3 separate regions of the Homo sapiens genome follow, and regions 2 and 3 are each linked to region 1. Evidence: promoter capture Hi-C in 16 types of primary human blood cells and fetal thymus (Javierre and others, 2016). All regions are on one chromosome and are shown on one strand. Each heading gives the region's core, a stretch centred on a gene start or on the middle of the fragment in contact. The rest is flanking DNA. Distances are from core to core; before and after follow the strand shown. Region 1 holds the start of AHCTF1 (AT-hook containing transcription factor 1). Region 2 holds the start of SH3BP5L (SH3 binding domain protein 5 like). Region 3 overlaps DRC8 (dynein regulatory complex subunit 8).

The links. Contacts are between HindIII fragments. The CHiCAGO score rates a contact against its expected background, and 5 or more counts as called.
Region 2: a contact is called between a fragment that was not itself captured here and the fragment with the promoter of AHCTF1 in region 1, in 2 of 17 cell types (fetal thymus and total CD4 T cells). The highest score is 7.1, in fetal thymus.
Region 3: a contact is called between a fragment that was not itself captured here and the fragment with the promoter of AHCTF1 in region 1, in 1 of 17 cell types (fetal thymus). The highest score is 7.7, in fetal thymus.

Annotation. Positions count from the first base shown.
Region 1 is chr1:246,930,368-246,933,938 of GRCh38, forward strand. It overlaps AHCTF1 (AT-hook containing transcription factor 1), which reads right to left and starts at 1,581. Exons shown (of 36, transcript NM_001323342.2): 1 at 1,211-1,581. RefSeq lists enhancers at 704-793, 1,914-1,963 and a silencer at 1,134-1,233. The HindIII fragment of the contact is 4,479 bases long and covers 539-3,571 here.
Region 2 is chr1:248,822,606-248,825,967 of GRCh38, forward strand. It overlaps SH3BP5L (SH3 binding domain protein 5 like), which reads right to left and starts at 3,310. Exons shown (of 7, transcript NM_030645.3): 1 at 3,230-3,310; 2 at 2,148-2,761. The coding sequence starts at 2,330. RefSeq lists enhancers at 2,982-3,041, 3,104-3,362. The HindIII fragment of the contact is 600 bases long and covers 1,305-1,904 here.
Region 3 is chr1:244,977,097-244,980,919 of GRCh38, forward strand. The region is part of intron 2 of DRC8 (dynein regulatory complex subunit 8); the gene reads left to right. Among named protein-coding and RNA genes, the nearest start is that of EFCAB2-AS1, 8.1 kb to the left of the region's middle. The HindIII fragment of the contact is 1,678 bases long and covers 511-2,188 here.

The sequences.
Region 1 (3,571 bases), core at 331-2,830:
ACAGCTTGGTAGTATGTTACTGAAGGATCAGGATCCAAAAATCACAGTACAGAGACAACGTAGACTTCCCATAGCGCTTGGCACACTTAAAACATCCCTTCAAGTATTAACCTTAACTGGGCTTGTCATCCCAGGTCAAATCCTCCGAAATAAGTAAACCACTCTAATTTCTTCTCTCCTAAGAGACTCTATCAGTGAAAGCTCACAAAAAAACAGTTTAAAAAAAAAAAAGGGGGGGTCTCGCCATGTTGCTCAGGCTGGTCTCAAACTCCTGGGTTCAAGCGATCCTCCCGCCTCAGCCTCTCAAAGTGCTGGGATTACAGACAGGAGCCACTGCGCCCAGCCAAAGACAGTTCTTAAAATCTACAGGTTCTTTAGGATATTCTGAGAATAAATATCGTTTAGGATTTCCCCAAAGGATTTACGTTTTGTTCTATGAAGAACCCAGTTCTTCCAAAAATTTCTACAACTGACGATTTGGAAATAAAAATAACGCTCATCTCATAAAACTTTGCACACAGATAGTATGAACCTCGTAAGCTTTGAGAACAAAATTTCCCCATCTCTCAAAACAAAACACCCAAACCAAAACAGTCAACCAGTGGCAAAAGAAACCGTCCTGTTTCCCAGGTAGGAAAAAGGAAGGCAAAGCACCCCAAGATGTGCTTTTATTTTAAATCTCCTTGATCTGACCAATCGGGTGAGCTGGAACCTCACGGCTGAGCCCCGAGTCCAACTTCTTCCCCGCCAGGACTACTCACTGTGGCCAGGCCCAAGCGCATGTGGAACACACGCCAACACAGGACAGGCTCAGCACGCCGGCCGCTTCCCTCGGGGAAAGGCCCGCCAACGAGTCCATCGCGTGGGAGAACAGTGGGAAAGGGTCGCGGCCCCGGCCGTCCGTAAAGGGACCCGACTGCCGGCGCAGGACGCGAACCACCAGCGCCGCTCCGCCGCCATGTGCCGCCGCTCCTCCGGTCCGAGATTATGTAACGAAGCCCGGCGCCCGCGAGCCTGCCGTACCCGCCACCGCCACCGCTCGCCCCCTCGAGCCCCATCCGTTGGCCCCGCGCACGCCCGGCCTAGGCCCGGCGCTCGCGGGGCAGAAGCCCCGCCGCCGCCGCCGCCGCCGCCGCCGCCGCCGCGGGTCCAGGCCGCGCGACCCGCCCTCCGCCGCGCGGGCCCAACCCCCTCCCTCCCTTCCCCCTACCTGAACGGGGCGGGTGAGCGCGCCGCCGCGGGCCGAGTCCACCGGGTCGCCAGGCCAGGCGCGAGCTCCTCCCGTGCGGGTCCGTCACAGCATCTCCCGGGAGACGTGGCCGCCACGGGCCGGGCTCACACCCCTCCGCCCGGCTGAAGCCGCTCCTCTGCGCTCCGGCCGCCGCCTGCGACCTCCCCGGCCACCTCAGAGCCACACGCCCCCGAGAGTGCCTTCGCGGGCTGTAGGCCTGCAGACCGCTCAGCGGCTAAAACGCAGTCGCTGCTCCCGCCGCGCTTCTGGGTCCTTCCCCTTGCAACGCTGCCTGCTCGCCTCGGACAGCGCCGGCCCCGCTCTGCGCATTACCCTGCGCCGACAAAACCGAGTTCCACACGCCCCGGAAGGGAGGGAGCAGAGGAAAGGGCGGAGAGGGAGGGGAGAACCGGCGGGAGATCGCGGCTGCAGGGACCAGAGTTCTCGCGATGGTTCCGCGCTCTAGCGCCGGCTCCGCGGGAATTTTCAAACTCTCGGTGAAAGAAGGAGGTGGGAGGGAAAGGGAGGAAAGAGAAGCAGGGCCTGGAAGGGCGGATCATTTACAAAAAAATCGGGTCTCTCCGCCTCCGAGGAGCTGGTGGGGAGAAAGACTACGAGTCCCACAGTGCCTTGCGCGTGAAGCCGCCCTGGCGGCCCCGGCGGCGCGCCCCGTGCGCAGTTGGGAGTGGTAGTCTTCGCTGGGGGTCGCGCCGGGCTCTGCCAGCCGCCTGCTGCGATTGCAGGCGGACTCTCTTGTCACGTAATCGTGTGGCCCTGCCAGCTGGGGGCCGAGTGATAATCTTTCTCCCATAATTGGCAGCTTGCATTCTGTATTTTCTGTTCTGTGCTCCCACTTTTCTTTTTTTCTTTTTCTTTTTTTTGGAGACGGAGTCTTGCTCTGTTGCCCAGGCTGGAGTGCTGTGGCACGATCTTGGCTCACTACAACCTGTGCTCCCGCTTTTCATGCCAAAGGTGGGCTCCCAGACTTCTGGGGAAACGCTTTTTCCACGGTGCTGTTTTTTCTAGCATCCTCCTGTGCTTTCATGGCCAAAAATGCTCGCGCAGCCTAGCCTAATCTTTTTAGTCAAAATTTTACCCCAAATCACTGTTATCTTTTTGGTCACCGCGGGTTTTCATTGTGGAATTTCTTATTTCTTGTTAGTATCTTCCTTTGAAGCAAATCCCAGCGCCAAACATGTTTCAAACAGATAGGGAACGTATCCTTAATACTAAGTAGTAAGTAAAAGGATTATAACATGAGGTAGAGTAGGGATTTTAAGAAGATGCTCTTTTATCAGGAAAGTTTCTACTTTTCTGTTACCTTTCATATGTGCTTTTTAAATTTTTTTATTTTTGAGACAGTGTCTCGCTCTGTCGCCCAGGCTGGAGTGCAGTGGTGTAATCAAGGCTCACAGCAGCCTCGAACTCGTGGGCTCAAATGATCCTCCTACCTCAGCCCTCCAAGTAGCTGGGACTATGGGCATGGACCACCATGCGCCACTACGTCCCATTAATTTTTTTATTTTATTTATTTATTTATTTATTTATTTATTTGAGACGGAGTCTCGCTCTGTCACCAGGCTGGAGTGCAGTGGCACAATCTCGGCTCACTGCAACCTCCGCCTCCCAGGTTCAAGAGGTTCTCCTGTCTCAGCCTCCAGAGTAGCTAGGACTACAGGTGTGCGCCACCATGCCCAGCTGATTTTTGTATTTTTAGTAGAGACAGGGTTTCACCATGTTGGCCAGGATGGTCTTGAACTCTTGACCTCGTGATCCACCTGCCTCAGCCTCCCAAAGTGCTGGGATTATAGGCGTGAGCCACCGCGCCCGGCCTTATTTTTTATTTTTTGTAGAGACTGTCTCACTGTGTTACCCAAGCTGGTCTCTACTCCTGGGCTCAAGAGATCCTCCTGCCTCAGCCTCTCAACGTGCTGGGATTACAGACATGAGCCACCATGCCCAGCCTATTTTTATTTTTGTAGAGACTGTGTCTTGCTGTGTTGCTCAGACTGGAGTGCATGGCTATTCGCAGGCACTATGGCCTCATCAGTGCCACTGCTGCCTCCAACTTCTAGGCTCAAGCTATCCTCCCACCTCAGCTTCCCGAGCAGCTGGGACTACAGGCATGGATATCATGCCTGGCCCATATTCTTTCAGAGATAATGCTGCCTTTTGGAAATGTAATTTTCTTTTTTCTGTAATTTTTGTTTCTTTAGTAACAGCAACCTCCATACATATCATGTTTGTTTGCACAAGGTATTGGACCAAGTTGTGATAGAAACAGTTAAAAAGAGTACTGCTTTTGCAGTAGGAGGTTTGGGGTTCGTTGTCTTAATTATT
Region 2 (3,362 bases), core at 355-2,854, 1.9 Mb after region 1:
GAGTCAGTGATGACAGAATATTCTATTTATGCACTGTCAGTATAACATTGAGGAACTGCTTTTTTTTTTTTTTCTGAGACGGAGTTTCGCTCTTGTCACCCAGGCTAGAGTGCAGTGGCAGATCTCAGCTCACTGCAACCTCCGCCTCCTGGGTTCAAGCAATTCTCCTGCCTCAACCCCCCAAGTAGCTGGGATTACAGGCACCCGCCACAACACCTGGCTAGCTTTTTTTATTTTTAGTAGAGACGGGTTTTCACCATGTTGGCCAGGCTGGTCTCAAACTCCTGACCTCAGGTGATCCACCTGCCTCGGCCTCCCAACATGCTGGGATTACAGGTGTGAGCCACCATGCCTGGCCGAGGAACTGCATTTTTACATGTTAATTTTAATTGATTGTGTTTAAATAGCCACATGCAGCTAGTCCACCCTATTAGACAGCACAATGCAAGCATGACTCTTCCTACTACTACCATGTGCCTATGCAGACACTGGAAAAATACATAGGAGTAGTAGAGGCCAAGTAAAGAGACCACAGTGGATTCTCCTCTGCAGAAGCCTTCTCTGGAGCAGGGCAAGGAAGGCTGTAGGGAGGCATATAATGCACATTACACAGCCCTCCTCCACAAGCAACAGAGAGACAGCTCTTTCCCAAAGTGCTATCTACAAACTATCACCAAGGAACAAGCAAAAAGAGTTTGAGAAAGAACTGTAGACTTGTGTCAGAGCAGAGCAAGAATGAGTTGTGCAAATCAGCTAGACCAACTGCTCACTTTACAGATGAAGAAACTGAGGCTCAGAAACGTAAAGAAACTTCCATAAAAATCATAAATCATGGGGTTGGAGGTAGCGTGAAACTCAGCCCAAGACTTTTTTCACTACAACTGATTTCCTCAGAGGATGATAAATCTGTAGAAATAGCAAGAAAAATTGGCTGTTTTCAATGCAATGTCAGGCAGAGCAGAAATAAATTACTGACTCATGCCAGAAACAAATGGCTCACCACTGCTCCATTATAAGCATGGACACAGTAGAAGAGGAACCCACACACACACACATATCCCAGGAACCCACACAGAGAGTGAAGGAAGAATGCCAGGACTGGCTTTGATTTCTTCCCAACTCACTGGAGTAATCCAATAAAGGTTTGCTGACAGATAAGCCTAGGAATTTGAGCCTTCATATGTTCTTGCTCACCTACAGAAGAGTCACTTCCACAACATCAGAGTCTTGGAGATGTGACCGGAACAAATGGCAGACTCAAGCCCCAAACATGCAGGAGCATCCTGGTCGTCACCTGCCCAAGAAGCTTCCTCAGGAAGTCATTCTCAGCCAATTCCCTGAAACACTGCAACCCAGCTTTGATTGGCCAGGCATCTCTTCCACATGGAGTTGGTCTTCCTCACTGACTACCCCCAGGTCTCCTACACAAAGATCTGCCTGTCCTACCAACTAGATTGTAGACACTCCAAGGCAATAAACTGCTCTTCCATTCCTTTAGGAGACCCACTATCCTGAGGGCCAGGTATGTATGTTACTAAGGATTGGCCACAACAAAAGTTACAAATCCTTGAACATATGGGGTTTCTTTATAGATCTAAAGTTGATGCTACCTTTATAACACTGGAAAGGTCTCACTGTTTACAAGGGTGAAACACATTATCAGAGCAATGTGGGCCGCACATCCCTGGAAGGTACCGCTGAGAAGGTGAGAAAGGGGAAAAGATTCTCTCACTCAGCCTCAAAACTGTCCCCCAGTATCAAAGTCATCTCCTCTCACACAGCATCCCTAACTAAGGTGGCAGCCCCTCTGCTTATCTGGAAAGAAGTACAACACACCTACCCTCCACTGACCTAAAGTGTGCCTCCTCCATCTACTGCCAAGTGACACTTTGCTCCTTCAGTGAAGCTTTCAGCAATGCCTCCCAAGCACTAAGGCCAGGCCTTTCTCTGCACTCCATCAGCACTTCAGACACACAACTCTTTTGGAACTTGTTACATTACCCTGCAATGATTTGTTGACAAACTTGTTCTCCTTTCCTGCCCCAGCAGACTGGGGACAGAGTAAGTCTAAGCCCTCATTCATCCAACACTCTTCAGGGAGGCTGGAATCTGGGCTCTCCTTCTCTCCCTGCTCTCAGTGCTCTCACCTGTATTCTAGGATCCAGTTCTTCCTCCTCTCTTGGGGACAATTTGGCCTCACTGCTGCTGCTTCCACCTCCTCCAGGCTCTTCTGCGACTGGGCTCCTAGGGACTTCATCCTCTACAACTTCAGGCCGCAGCTCCCCCTGTGGGGTCTCCCGCCCTCCTGGAACCTGTCTGAGCTCAGCCATGCTGACAGGGGGAGGGCAGAGCCCTATGCACAAGAGAGGACTGACATGCTGGGACCAGGGCCCCAGCTTGGGGCTTCCTGGGCTCTAGATGGCCAGGAGAAGAGTTTCTCTTCTCAAAAGGCAGAAAAGGTGGGCACAGGAAGAACCTCACACTAGGTTAGAGGTTGAGATTCAAGTTGTCAGTGGGGTTCCTAGAGCTGAAGCCTTGTCTGTGCAAAAGTTCTTCCCTTCCCGCCACAGGGAGTCCACTGTGACAAACCCGGAGCAACAGCTCCAAGGCAGGGGGCAAAGGGGGCTTGGATCCTGGACCGAGGCCTGCTAGGAGGAGCACCATTCGGGAGGGTGGAGGCAGGCGCCTCCAGGCTGTGGTGGCAGCTGGAGAGAGAAGGCTGGGCCCGAGCTGAGGCTGTAGGATGAGCGTCTCTGGGGAGCTGCAGAGAAACAAAGGCCAAGTATATGGTCATGTCAGCATCAAAACCGCAGCCACCAGCCCCTTCCAACTCTACAGCCTCCCAAAAACTACACTCTCACCACGCCCCCACCCATGTATTCCGACCAGTCCCTACCTCAACTTCTCTCCTTAGCCCTCAAGGACTTTAGATTCTACTCTTCCCCCGTCCCAGCTCCTCTCGACCCAGGCCCTCCTCAACCAGCGCCTTCGAGACTTTCCTCTGCACCCCTAGGCTCTCCTCCATCTCCTGTGGTCTCCCGCTCGTCCCACTCCACCCCAGCCCGGCTTTGCGATTCACCTTGTAACCCCGAGCCCCACCCCACCTTCTCTGTCCAACCCGAGACATCTAAGCCTCCCGTCTCCAATTCCACACTCTTCCGCAATCCCAAGGACCCTACTCCCGTCCATTCTACCCAGCCATGCGCAAAAGCCCCCCGCACAGCCTTACCTCAGTTTACCTTCCCGTCCGCGGAGCTTCTATGCTGCAAACAATCTCCCCCCCTCCCTCCCCGCAACAAGCCGATCCAACCAAAAACGACCAGGCAGACCAGAAGCGGAAATACATCATCGGTGAACAACGC
Region 3 (3,823 bases), core at 100-2,599, 2.0 Mb before region 1:
AGACAGAAAGTAGATTGCTGGTTGCCAGGGGCTGTGGGGAGAGGAGAATGGGAAGTTGTTTAAGGAGTGTAGAGTTCCAGTTCTGCAAGATGAAGGAAGTTCTGGAGATTGGTTGCCCAGCAGTGTGAAGGTACTTAACACTATTGAACTATATGGTTAAAAGTGGTTAATACAGTAAGTTTTACATTATGTGTATTTTACCACATTTTAGTAAATAGAAAATGTTGAGTACATTCAGAATGAAAGAAATGGTACATTGTTTTTCAAAGGCAATTTGGAAATTTGTATTGAAGAATAAATGATGATGGCTAGGCAAGGTGGCTCACATCTGTAAACTCAGCACTTTGGGAGGCTGAGGTAGGAGGATTACTTGAGACCAGGAGTTCGAGACCAGCCTGGGCAACATGCTGAGACCTCATCTTTGCTAAAAATAAAATAAATAATAATAAAGAAGTCGGGGGTTCCCTCTGTTGGCTTTGGAGCCCCCATCCCTCTGTCTCTGTACAGGGAAGCTTCTTCCTTCTCCTTTCTTGCTCCTTCTTGCCTGTTAAACTCTCTATTTCTTAAAACCAAAAAAATAAAAAATAATAATAAAAAGTGATGTCCACATGCTTTGAGCTTTAATATACTTCTGGATATTTATCCTTAGAAATATATTCTGAAAAGAATAAAAAATGCTCTAAGCACAAAAATGATCAACATAAAGTTATCTATAAATTTGAAAATATAGATAACATTTGCATGTCCAACTAATGGGGCATACAAAATAAATGGTTGTATGTCCACTTGTTGGGTTGCAGCCAAATATATAAAAATTATATGTGTAAATGGGTAAGGACACGTGGGGGAGCCCAGGAGATGATGATGATAGCAGGGTGATTAGACTTTTAGGGGCACTTATTTTTAAAATCTCATTTTAATGTCAGTTCTACAAAACTTTAAAAACCCACTTAAATATGCTAATTAAAAATTATTCTTACCCACTTGTGAAAGTGTGTTTACCAGATCCTGTACTTGACAATCCTTTGTAAACCTCTAGTATGGATTTTATAGATATTAAGACTGTAAAAAAGTAATTTTAGTTTTTATTTTTATTTTTTAAGAGATGAGATCTAGGCCGGGCGCAGTGGCTCACGCCTGTAATCTCAGCACTTTGGGAGGCTGAGGCTGGCGGATCGCCTGAGGTTGGAAATTCAAGACCAGCCTGGCCAACACGGGAAAACCCCGTCTCTATTAAAAATACAAAATTAGCTGGGCATGGTGGCGCATGCCTGTTATCCCAGCTACTCGGGAGGCTGAGGTAGGAGAATCACTTGAACCCGGGAGGCGGAGGTTGTGATGAGCTGAGAGCACCATTTTACTCCAGCCTAGGCAACAAGAGCGGAACTCCGTCTCAAAAAAAAAAAAAAAAGAGACGAGGTCTCACTCTGTCACCCTGGCTGGGGTGCAGTGGCTTGATCACAGCTCACTGTAGCCTCTACTTTCTGGGCTCAAGTGATCTTCCCACTTTGGCCTCCCAAGTAGCTGGGACTGCAGGGGCGTGCCACTGTGCCCAACTAACATTTTTATTTTTGGTAGAGATAAGATCTTGCTCTGTTGCCCAGGCTAGTCTCAAACTCCTGGCCTCAGGCAATCCTACCACCTTGGCCTCCCAAAGTGCTGGGATTACAGGCTTGAGCCACCACCTCTGGCCCATAATTTTATTTTTTTAAATGCACTAGTAAAATTGGGAGTTTAAAAACCTGGACTAGAATTTGGACATTGCCTTTTTTTTTATTCTTTTTAAGATTTTGCTTGTTAGTGTCAATTTATCTGACCTTTGGTTTGAAGAATTTCCATCTAAAGAGGAAGATAGGCAGCTAAGGAGACAATGATACAATAATGTGATAAGTGCTATGATAGTTGCACATGTATGATGATTGGGTGCCTGGGGAGAGTCACCTGATTCACACACACCCTCTTTAAATTATAGCCCCTTTTTATTCCCTCTCATAGCTATTTGTTTTTTTCCTCTTTCATACTATATTTTGTAATTGCCTGTAGATGTGTTGTTTGATGTCTGCTTCTCCTAGACTCTTAACTTCCAAAAGGATAGGGGTCATGCTCATGCATATACCCAGAGCATGGCATATAGCTCAGTATTTGCTGAATGTTGAATCAAAGTTGGCTTTCTGAAGGAGATAACCGAAGCTTATCTTTTTTTTTTTTTTTTTTTTTTTTTTTTTTGAGACGTAGTCTTGCTCTTGTCGCCCAGGTTGGAATGCAGTGGCGTGATCTCGGCTCACTGCAACCTCTGCCTCCTGGGTTCAAGCGATTCTTATGTCTCAGCCTCCCAAGTAGCTGGGATTACAGACATGTGCCACCATGCTGGGCTCATTTTTTTATATTTTTAGTAGACGGGGTTTCACCATACTGGCCAGTCTGGTCTCGAACTCCTGACCTCAAATGATCCGCCTGCCTTGGCCTCCCAAAGTACTAGGATTACAGGTGTGAGCCACTGCGCCTGGCCTAATTTTTGTATTTTTAGTAGAGACGGGGTTTCACCATGTTGGCCAGGCTGGTCTGGAACTCCTGACCTCATGTGATCCGCCCACCTTGGCCTCCCAAAGTGTTGGTATTACAGGTGTGAGCCACGACTCCCAGCCCCAGGCTTATCTTGAAGGTGTAATAGCACAGAGAACAAGTAGGGGATGGATATTTCAGGAAGAGAAGAAATAACATACTTGAAATTGTGAAGACTCAATATGGCCGAAATTTAGGATGGGTTAGGAGATGTGGGAATTTTTATTCTTAAAGCATTGGTGAGTGATTAAAAGTTTTTAACAAGGCCGGGTGCAGTGGCTCACGCCTGTAATCCCAGCACTTTGGGAGGCCGAGGCAGGTGGATCACGAGGTCAGGAGATCAAGACCATTCTGGCTAACACGGTGAAACCCCGTCTCTACTAAAAAAAAAAAAAAAAAAAAAAAAAAAAATTAGCTGGGCGTGGTGGCAGGTGCCTGTAGTCCCAGGTACTTGGGAGGCTGAGGCAGGACAATGGCGTGGACCCAGGAGGTGGAGGTTGCAGTGAGCCGAGATCACGCCACTGCACTCCAGCAAGGGCAACACAGCGAGACTCCGTCTCAAAAAAAAAAAAAAAAAAGTTTTTAACAAGATGGGAGGCTGAGGCAGGATAATCACTTGAACCCGGGAGGTGGAGGTTGCAGTGAGCCAGGATTGCACCACTGAACTCCAGCGTGGCTGACAGAATGAGACTCTGTCTAAAAAATAAAAATGAAAAAATAAAAAATAAAGTTTTTTTTAGCAAGAGACAATCATATTTGTTGTCTAGAAAAATCACTTGGGCAAGTGTGCTCAGTGGATTAGATGGACTCCAGGTTTGGGACTCCAGGTTTGTCCCAGTATAGTAGTCCAGAAAGATAAAACCCTGAACCAAAGTAATGGAAGTCAGGAATGAAACAAGGAGATAGGCTAGAGGAAATGGATAGATTTTGTAATAGGACAGATATGAATATTGAGTCAGGTCAGGGACACGGTTTCTGATTGGGTAACAAAGAATAAAGAGGAATAGTAGAGTTATGTAAATAATAGTTCTAGTCTTGCACATGTTGAGTTTGGGTGCCTGTGAGGCATTCAGGTTGAGATATAACATAGGCAGCACTGTGTGCTTGGTACCTAAATATCTGTTGAATGAAAAATGAGAATGATGTGTGTTGGATCGCTTGAATGTATTCCTCTGTAAGTGGTTGTAGTCTTGGGAATGGTTGAGAATGTCCAGAAAAAATGGATACAATTTTGTTGACTGAGGCCGGGCGTGGTGGTTCA